2 separate regions of the Homo sapiens genome follow, and region 2 is linked to region 1. Evidence: promoter capture Hi-C in human tissues and cell types (Jung and others, 2019). All regions are on one chromosome and are shown on one strand. Each heading gives the region's core, a stretch centred on a gene start or on the middle of the fragment in contact. The rest is flanking DNA. Distances are from core to core; before and after follow the strand shown. Region 1 holds the start of RPL7L1 (ribosomal protein L7 like 1). Region 2 overlaps TRERF1 (transcriptional regulating factor 1).

Region 1 (4,707 bases), core at 840-3,339:
ATGGTCTTGAACTCCTGAGCTCAAGTGATCTGCCTGCCTCGGCCTCCCAAAGTGCTGGGATTACAGGCGTGAGCCATCGCCGCCTGGCTGAAGTATTGTTAACCCTAAAATTCCTCCTCCTTTTAATATTATTGGTACCACAGACTCTACCTTTTATCCATAGACAGGAAAAATCACAAAACATTTAACTTTTTGCTTTTTTGTTTACTATTTAGTGAATGTCTTACACTTTGGTGACCCTTGTGTTTAGCCTCTTTACAAAGACACATGGTGAGGTGCTGAAAGAGAATGAGCCTCCCTCTTTCAGTGTGTGACCTTGAATGCTGGGTTGTCCTGACACTTACTCATCAGAAAGTGACCTGTGCCCATGGCACTCTTTCCGGTTGGACTAGTTACATGGCAACACGAGGCCTTTAGCTGCCACCAGTATCAGTATCAATAGTGCCAAAATCGAGAAATTGGTGCTAGATCCTTAGGATCAGTGATGAGTAAGCAGTCATGGTTCCTGCCCCCCCTAGTATCATGTGGAAGAAATATTAAAAATATAATAATGTCCTGAGGGAAATCAGACACTACTCTAGAGTCTTACTAGTCAGCCCATAGACCAGTAGCACCAGCGTCACTCTGAAGCCTGTTAAAAATGCAGAATATTGGCCAGGTGCGGTGGCTCACGCCTGTAATCCCAGCACTTTGGGAGGCCGAGGCGGGCGGATCACGAGGTCAGGAGATCGAGACCATCCTGGCTAACAAGGTGAAATCTCTACTAAAAATTCAAAAAATTAGCCAGGCGTGGTGGCGGGCGCCTGTAGTCCCAGCTACTCGGGAGGCTGAGGCAGGAGAATGGCGTGAACCCGGGAGGCGGAGCTTGCAGTGAGCCAAGATCGCGCCACTGCACTCCAGCCTGGGCGACAGAGCGAGACGCCATCTCAAAAAAAAAAAAAAAAAAAAAGCAGAATATCAGCTCCCCACCCGGCCTCCTGAATAAAAATCTGTATTTTAGTAAAATCTTCAGGTGACTCCTATTCACTATTAATGCTTGAGAAGCGCTGCTCTGGAGGTTTCCAGAGATGATAAGACTTGTGTTGTTTTTCAGGATTTTTAATTTTAAAAAAAATTTATTTCTTGTTTTTTTTGAGACTGTCTCGCTCTGTCGCCCAGGCTGGAGTGCAAGTGGCACAAACTCGGCTCACGCAGCCTCCGCCTTCTGGGACTTCAGGCGCGAGCCACCACGCCCAGCTAATTTTTTGTATTTTTAGTAGAGACGGGGTTTCACCATCTTAGCCATGCTGGTCTCCAACTCCTGACCTCAAGTGATCCACCTGCCTTGGCCTCCCAAAGTGCTGGGATTACAGGTGAAAGCCACCGGCCCGACCTACTGTTTTTCAGGATTCTATATAGACTGGGAGGGAAGAACGCAAATTCCGGGCGATGAGAGCTGCATAAGGGTTTTATTTTTATTCTTTTTTTTTCTTTTCTTTTCTTTTTGTTTTTTTGAGACGGAGTCTTGCTCTGTCGCCCAGGCTGGTGGGCAGTGGCGCGATCTCGGCTCACTGTAACCTCCGCCCAAGACGGGGTTTCGCCGTGTTGGCCAGGCTGATCTCGAACTCCTGACCTCAGGTGATCCTCCCGTCTCGGCCTCCCTCCCAAAGTGCTGGGATTACAGGCGTGAGCCACCGCGCCCGGCCTGTGTAACGGTTTTAGACGGGAAGGAAGCATGTTGTAGTTTTCGGTCCAGCAGTAATAGTAACAAACATAGTGCTGACAGACACTGCTAAACGCTTTATCTAATCTCCTGTAATCCTCGTAACGCCATTAGGTAGACCTATTATTACTGTACACCCATTTTATGGGTAATGAAGCCGCAGTATAGAGGGGTTAAATAACGTGTTCAAGGACGCATCGACGGGGCCAAGCAGACGGAATTGCAGCTACCTGCTTTACCACTCTAAGTCCTCAACAAACACTTCCACCTACACGTGAGAGCCAAAGCCATAGCCTCCAAGTTTTTCCACAGAGCGAAAATGTTTCGCGGAGTTTGCCTGTCTTCCTCCCCAGAGACGCAGCACAGCCGCGCCGGAAGTGCGGCGCCGTAGCTAGGAGCGGACGCCATAGGTGCATTGTGGGAAGCACTTTGCTGTCCACAGCCAGGCCGCTTGTGATGAAACTGTAACTTACAAGAAAAGGGCTGGGTTTTGAAAATAACACAGGCTCTAAAAACCCTAAGAAGCGGTGCAACTTTTGGCAGGAATCGGGGTTAGCGGGACCTCAAGGGCTCACTGCGGCTAAGTGAACGCTGACTGGTCCTCCAGCGTGAGCTAGAACAGACGTCTCTATGGTCAAGTAAACAGAGCGTGTGCTGTCTTCCCCATGTGGTGGGGTTGCGCATGATCAGTAGCTGCACCACTAGAAAGATGGCGGAGCAAGAGTGAGTGTTTGGGGCTTTGAATATCTGGAGTGGGGTCTTGAGTATCCGGTGCCATCCACGGTGTTTATGCCTTGGTGGCGGATTCCTGTGGGCTCTAGGAATAGAAAAGGCCACAGTTTACAAAGGGTGGGGGTGAGGAGGAGTAGCGCTGTGGCGGAGGAGGGAGGGGACCGCGGTCAAGTTCGGGTTATCTGGAGAGGCGAGGATTGACTTCAGGCAGCGGGCTGGAGTGCCACAGTTGAATTCACCCAGCCCGACAAGTGTTAACTCTGCAGATAGGCCTGCCCCCGCCCCAACCCCATAGATTCGTCGCTGCTAGTGCCTATGAAGAACTGTGGCCGTGAAAACCCTGTTAACTTATACGAACCCAGAGGCTAAAGGATTCATTATTTTCCGAGGCTTTGGGGATGAGTGACTATTAGGGATGGATTTATGAGGCCTGGAGTCAGAAACCGCAGGTTTCAGGGGAATCTTTCTTCAGATACTTGAAAACAGTAATGTTCCCTAAAGCCCAGGATATTGAATTGGTTTGGAAATCCATTGAATGTTCGTTTTCTTTTTTGTTGTTGTTTTTGTTTTGAGACGGAGTCTTGCTCTGTCCCCCAGGCTGGAGCGCAGTGTCGGGATCTCGGCTCGGTGCAACCTCCGCCTCCCGGGTTCAAGCGATTCTCCTGCCTCAGTCTCCCGAGTAGCTGGGATTACAGGCGTGCGCCACCACGCCCAGCTGATTTTTTATTTTTAGTAGAAACGGGGGTTTCACCATGTTGGTCAGGCTGGTCTCGAACTCCTGACCTCAGGTAATCCACCCACCTCGGCCTCCCAGAGTGCTGGGATTACAGGCTTGAGCCACCGAGCCCGGCCAAGTGTTCTTTTCTAAATGTTATCTCTGATCTCAATTTTCTGCATCAGGCAAAGAAAAATCCCTTTGGTTCCAGAAAATCTCCTGAAAAAGAGGAAGGCTTATCAAGCCCTCAAAGCCACCCAGGCAAAGCAGGCACTTTTGGCAAAGAAGGAGGTAATGGTGGGGAACCAAGAGAAAGTAATTAGAATTTTTATTTGGTGAGTTTTATCCCGCATGTGTTGGACTACATTTGGTATTGACGAGCTCCCCCCAACGGTTTGACAGACCAGGTATAGTTGTCTCTCAGTGTCCTTAAGGGGTTGGTTCCAGGACTCCCACAGATGCCTAAATCTCAGACTGCTGAAGTCCCTTATATAAAATGGTTGTAGTAGGCCGGGCGCGGTGGCTCACGCCTGTAATCCCTGCACTTTGGGAGGCCGAGGCGGGCGTATCACGAGGTCAGGAGATCGAGACCATCCTGGCTAACACGGTGAAACCCCGTCTCTACTAAAAATATAAAAAATTAGCCGGGCATGGTGGCAGGCTCCTGTAGTCCCAGCTACTCGGGAGGCCGAGGCAGGAGAATGGCGTGAACTCGGGAGGTGGAGGTTGCAGTGAGCCAAGTTCGTGCCACTGTACTCCAGCCTGGGCGACAGAGCGAGACACTCTCTCAAAAAATAAATAAATAAATAAATAACTGGTTGTAGTATTTGCATATAATCTATACTCCTTCCGCCTATGTAGTTTAAATCCTCTCTGGATTGCTTAATAGCTTTATTTATTTATTTATTTATTTTGAGGCAAGAGTCTCACTCTTGCCTAGAGTGGAGTGCAGTGGCACAATCTCGACTCACTGCAACCTCTGCCTACTGGGCTCAAGCAATTCTCGTGCCTCAGCCAACCAAGTAGCTAGGATTACAAGCATGCGCCACCACACCTGGCTAATTTTTTTTTTAACTTAATTTAATTTTGTTTTGTTTTTTGAGACAGAGACTCACTCTGTCACCCAGGCTGGAGTGCAGTGATGCGATCTTGGCTTACCACAACCTCCGCCGCCTCCCGGGTTCAAGCGATTCTCCTGCCTCAGCCTCCCAAGTAGCTGGGATTACAAGGATGTGCCACCATGCCCTGCTAATTTTTGTATTTTTAGTAGAGACCGGGTTTCACCATGTTGGCCAGGCTGGTGTCCAACTCATGGACTCAAGTGATCTGCCCACCTCGGCCTCCCAAAGTGCTGCGATTACTGATGTCAGCCACCCCACCCGGCCACCGGCTGATTTTTGTATTTTTAGTAGAGATGTTTTGACATGTTGGCCATGCTGGTCTCAAACTCCCGGCCTCAAGTGATCACCCACCGGCCTTCCAAAGTGCTGGGATTACAGGCCTGAGCCACCCTGCCTGGCCTGGATTACTGATAGCTAATACAGTGTACATAATGTAT
Region 2 (5,024 bases), core at 1,628-4,127, 620 kb before region 1:
ATGCTGTCTAAAACACAAAAATCAGAGGTCACTAGTCAACAGGGAAGGAATGTTGAAAAAGACTAAAGCAAATGAGCAGTTACCTAACCAGCCATAATAGAGCTTCTCTCCTACCCAGCTCCTGCCAGAGTTATCCTTGACAGTTTCCAGGGAGCTGGGTGGAGTATGGTGCAAAATAACTTAGGGTTACCCATTTCTCACACAGGGTGAGGAGAAGCCAGCTGTCCCACAATGGTCTGCTAAGCGGTATGATTTCTATGCAATTATTCTTGCTCCAGAAAGAGATCCTAGCCTCTCTATGCTTGATTTTTATAAAGCATGCTAAAATGTCAAGGCTTGATCTTGCATGTAATACCTAATCTTATTTGTACATCTACTGAGTACATTTTCTTTTTTTTGAGACGGAGTCTCGCTCCTTCGCCCAGGCGGGAGTGCTGTGGCGCGATGTCGGCTCACTGCAGCCTCCGCTTCCCGGGTTCAAGAGATTCTCCTGCCTCAGTCTCCTGAGTAGCTGGAACTACAGGTGCCTGCTACCACATCCCGTTATTTTTTTTTTTGAGACGGAGTTTCACTCTCATCCCCCAGGCTAGAGTGCAGTGGCATGATCTTGGCTCACTGCAACCTCTGCCTCCCAGGTTTAAGCGATTCTCCTGCCTCAGCTTCCCAAGTAGCTGGGATTACAGGTGCGTGCCACCATGCCCGGCTAATTTTTGTATTTTTAGTAGAGACGGGGTTTCACCATGTTGGCCAGGCTGGTGTCCAACTCCCGGCCTCAAGTGATCCACCCGCCTCGACCTCCGAAAACGCTGGGATTACAGGTGTGAGCCACCGCGCCCGGTCTCATTTTTTCTCTCTTGCACGATCATTGCTGGCAGCCTTAAAAAGTGGGTGAACATTTCAACTGTTTCCTTATCCCAGAGACTGTAGTGATCACTTTATGCATCTGTCTCCCAATTAGACTGCGATTCCCTTGAGGATAAGGGCTATGTATTCCAAGTCTTTCTTAACACCCAGCAGCGCGTGCTACATACAGCCAATACTCCGCAAAAGTCTGTGGGATAAATGAGAAAGCTAAAGAAAACGAGATGTCCCAGGACTTTACCCAGCACCCAGAGCCCAGGAGGACGCTAAAGGGGTGACTCACTGGAGCGACACAGCAGCACCCGTGGTGTGGGCGTCAGGGGCGTCAGGGGCAGCTGCGGGTGGGCGCCAGGGCCGTGGCCGGAGATGAGGACATTGCTGAAGAGCCCCGAGCCCTGGCGCACCGGGCTCAGCATGGGTGGGGGCGTGTAAGGGGGCAGCTCGTGGGTGGGGTCCAGGAGCAGGTGGTCCCCGAGGACGCGCGGGGAGCGCAGCTGGCTCTGGTACAGGGTGGCGCCCGAGTAGGAGGCAGCGGGGTTCGGGTTGTAGGAGGGCGGCGGCGGGATGAAGAGAGGTTCCGGCCGGTGCCGGAACTTTTTCTTCTCCTGCACGGTCTTGAGGGGCTCCTCGGCTTTGGGCACACTCGGCTGATGCTTCCTGGGGATTTCCTAAAACCGGAACAACGATCTGATTCGAATACTTCAGCTTCCCCCGCAGGCCATTTCCACAGGTTCAGGGAAGGGGGCCTTCTACTGTCTAAGCAGAGAGCCCTTCTGCTTGACCCCCCCACCCCCAACGCCCCCACATTCTGACCACATCCATTTTAGGCAAAGCGAGTTCTGGTTGCTAGACTAGGGAGAAAACTAAGGTTTTGGAAGAAATCCCTAATTTCTGAAAGAGCTGGGGGTGGTAGGAATAGTGGGTGGGCAAGAAGTAATAAATTCAAATTCTTTATTGCTTATCACTACATTCCCATCTGTTTGAGTGGAATCCAGCTGAGTGGGCTCTTTAATTCCCCCATTGCTCCCCAGGGACGGACATCAGGAACAGATACCACATGTTCTGAGAAGGGGACAGAATAATCTCTTCAGGGAAGCTGGGACCGAGACCTGTGAGGCAGGAAGTGGGGGTTCAAGCCTAGCCAAGGTTCCTAAGGCCAGCGACCCACACCGGGCTCTCCTGGGTCACTTTCAGCAGGGGGGGAGAGCCTTCGATGACCTCTAAGGGCCCTTCCATGTGCTCACCTAAAAACGGATCTGGTTAACCTCCCCCGTCACCACCCCTCACTATTGCTCCCAGAACTCGTAGCTTATTTGTAGCAAACTCTTCTCTGAGGTTGGCTTCCTGTCAGGAGAGTTAGTTTATTTTAATGGCAGCGGAACCAAGCATAGTCTGGAAGGAGGATCTGCCACATGGATACATATATACTAATAAGTAAACATAGGCACGTAAACAGATGAGCAGGGCATGCCAAAGCCAAACAGAAACAGACTCGGGTTGTGTGGTAGCATCAGCCCAGAAAAGTCGAGAGCTGGGTGTGGCTGCAGAGGCAGTGTGGTTGGGAGGGGCCACGGGGATACCTGAGGGAAGGTTCTGGGCAGTCTGGGGTGCCCTCTCAGGCCCTGCAGGCCAGGGGCCAGTCACAGCTGCAGGTCCTGGAGACTCCTGAGCCCAGGGTGGCGCCTGGGTAGGAAGCAGCAGGGGGTGATGGGAAGGGCTGGCTACGGTCATGTGACCATCTGCCTCCAGGCCATGTGACCTGCCCCATGGGCTCCTCTGCTCTGGGCTCCTCTCCCTCCAGAGCTTCAGGCTCTGCCCCCTTCTGTTTCTCCCTCAGCTTCTCTGCCTTCCATGGTGCCATCCTGGCCTCTAGGAGAGGAGTCTAGGGAGGCAGAGAGTGGGGAAAGGAGGAGGGGGCAGAGGGTCCCAGGCTCCCGGCTCCAGAGTGAGGTTCCTAACTACCCCCGCCCCCACCCCTCCCCTATCCCCGCGCCTCACCCCCAGGGGACCCTCCTTAGGCCAGCGCGCTCAACCGCCTCTTTTCTCCACCAGAGGGCTCCTCAGCGCCTGAGGCTGAGGCGAGAGAGGGGCTGAGGAGAATGGGGGAAGGAGGCCTGTGCCCCCCCCAAGGGGAGCAGCCCTGAAGATACACTCTGTTCCCGGGTAACAGATAAGATCATCCAAGAACATGCAGACCTTATATGATCTCAACGCAGCACTGCAATCCAGACCTCTGATCACAGGGCCAGAGGTCCCTTTTGGGCTCCCTCTCCTCCAGCTTCTTGTCCTGTTACTCCAGCTCTAAACCTGGATTTTCCGATCCTCCAGGCAAGGCTCTGAGCCACTGGGCAAGAGAAGCCACCCAGGATGTCATATATGGTTGTCACTTGAGAGGAAACACTTACAGTGTTCCACCCCACCAAGCTATTTGGACACTTTGGGGGTGAGGCCAAGCACTGAAAACTTTAAAAAGCTGCCCACAGAGAAGGATGAGAACCACTGATGAGTCCAACCCTATCAAGGTCAGGGGAGGAAACTGAGGCTGTGAGTGGGGGGCAGGTCTCAGCTGTCTTCATCCCAGCTGGCTAGGAGCCAAACTGAGATGGGCACTCGGGGCTCCTTCCTGGATGTTTTAATTTCTTTACATTAAGTGCCAGGGCCTTGTTCCCATGTATTCAGTCCCACCTACATGCTTCCACTTCAGCCTACCGCCCCCACCAACGAGGTCTCTCTCACCCTTCCATTAAGCCAAGTTCATCCCTTCCTTCAAAATCCTGCTCAGAACTCTAATGGTGATCTCCTGAGCAAACTCCCTTGCCCCTCCCCAGTCCATAATGACTTTGGCTACCCAGGTGTATTCTCATCCAGTCACACTTAAAGCATCAATTTCTTGTCTGCCCCTGTCTTTCTCTTACCATCTTGAAGGGGTGGGGGGGGTGTGCCTGGGACTCTGACCCCCATGTGACTATGAACTCTTAATTGAGAGTTCCCCAAGGGAACTATTTCCCCAAGGAAACACTGTTTCTCCTGCCAAAGCACGAACTTCCCTGGGCAAAGAGGGAGCTTGGATGTGTCATTTCATCTCTCTGCCTGTTGCTGACCCCCAAGTCCTGACGGCTTATGAGAATCTTCCCCCCAGTTCTCCATCAGTTTCTCTTCTTTTGAGGACTTGATATTACACCATAAAGGTTTTTTTCTGTACTTTTCTAGTTGTATTCATTATCTTCTCTCCCTCTACCCTGGCCCAGCCTACCCTTATGCCTCCTGGATTCCCAGCAGCTACCTATTCCTAAGGACAAATATGACCCAACATGCCACTTTGTGGGGAGGGGGTAGGTTTGATATTGCCAACCACACAGGTCACAAATTCCCTAGGGGCAGAGAGAGAGAGAGAGAGAGAGAGAGAGAGAGGAGAGAGAGAGAGAGAGAGAGAGAGAGAGAGAGAGAGAGAGAGAGAGAGAGAGAGAGAGAGAGAGAGAGAGAGAGAGAGAGAGAGAGAGAGAGAGAGAGAGAGAGAGAGAGAGAGAGAGAGAGAGAGAGAGAGACAGACAGACGGAAACCCTTCCCAGAGGCAAATTAAGCTGTTTGAGTGAAGCACTTAAAATTGGAGAAAGGAGAACAGTGAGTGAGAAAAACAAATCTCTTTGCTTTCCTGAGATTAGGGGTGGGTGGCTCTCAGTGGAACTACTTTGGGAACTTTAACGAATTAGGTTCTCCAGGGTATTTAAGCAGACAAAAATATTAAGCAACTGGTAAGGCTGCTTGTCAGAATGGATGCCAGGGCTATTGCCTGGAAGCCTGCTGCGCCAGTGGTTACCTCTTTGGTTGTGGATTTGGGAGGTCTGGAGATCCTGGGGAAGGGGCCAGGGCCTGGGGCAACAGCTGCTTACTTTCTGGGATACAGGACTTCCATATTTCAATAATGGCTATGATTGTCTCAGTGACTCCCAGCTGAATGATCGTCTCTGTTTAAACCTGGGAACACTTTCGGGTCTCTCAGAATCTAACCTAGGCCATTAGTTTGGCATTTAATGGGGAGCAGGCAGTGTGAACAAGGGTAGGGTTCCCAATGTGGCCACGGGTTCAGCCCTGAGAGACCAAGCCGTATCCAAGCTCAGGTCAGTGACTCTGGAAGGGCCGCCCCATCTCCAAGAAAGCAAAGG

Evidence for each region. Contacts are between HindIII fragments. The study calls those that stand out against the background at their distance.
Region 2: a contact is called between a fragment that was not itself captured here and the fragment with the promoter of RPL7L1 in region 1, in 1 of the 25 tissues and cell types used here (lymphoblastoid cells).

Annotation. Positions count from the first base shown.
Region 1 is chr6:42,877,527-42,882,233 of GRCh38, forward strand. RPL7L1 (ribosomal protein L7 like 1) reads left to right here and starts at 2,090. Exons shown (of 6, transcript NM_001366481.3): 1 at 2,090-2,425; 2 at 3,335-3,440. The coding sequence starts at 2,385. RefSeq lists enhancers at 1,102-2,059, 1,802-2,271, 2,060-3,016, 2,292-2,351. The HindIII fragment of the contact is 12,927 bases long and covers 1-4,707 here.
Region 2 is chr6:42,258,195-42,263,218 of GRCh38, forward strand. It overlaps TRERF1 (transcriptional regulating factor 1), which reads right to left. Exons shown (of 18, transcript NM_001395490.1): 9 at 1,145-1,529; 10 at 1-7. Among named protein-coding and RNA genes, the nearest start is that of MRPS10, 43 kb to the left of the region's middle. RefSeq lists enhancers at 1,990-2,510, 2,511-3,031, 2,969-3,018. The HindIII fragment of the contact is 5,320 bases long and covers 218-5,024 here.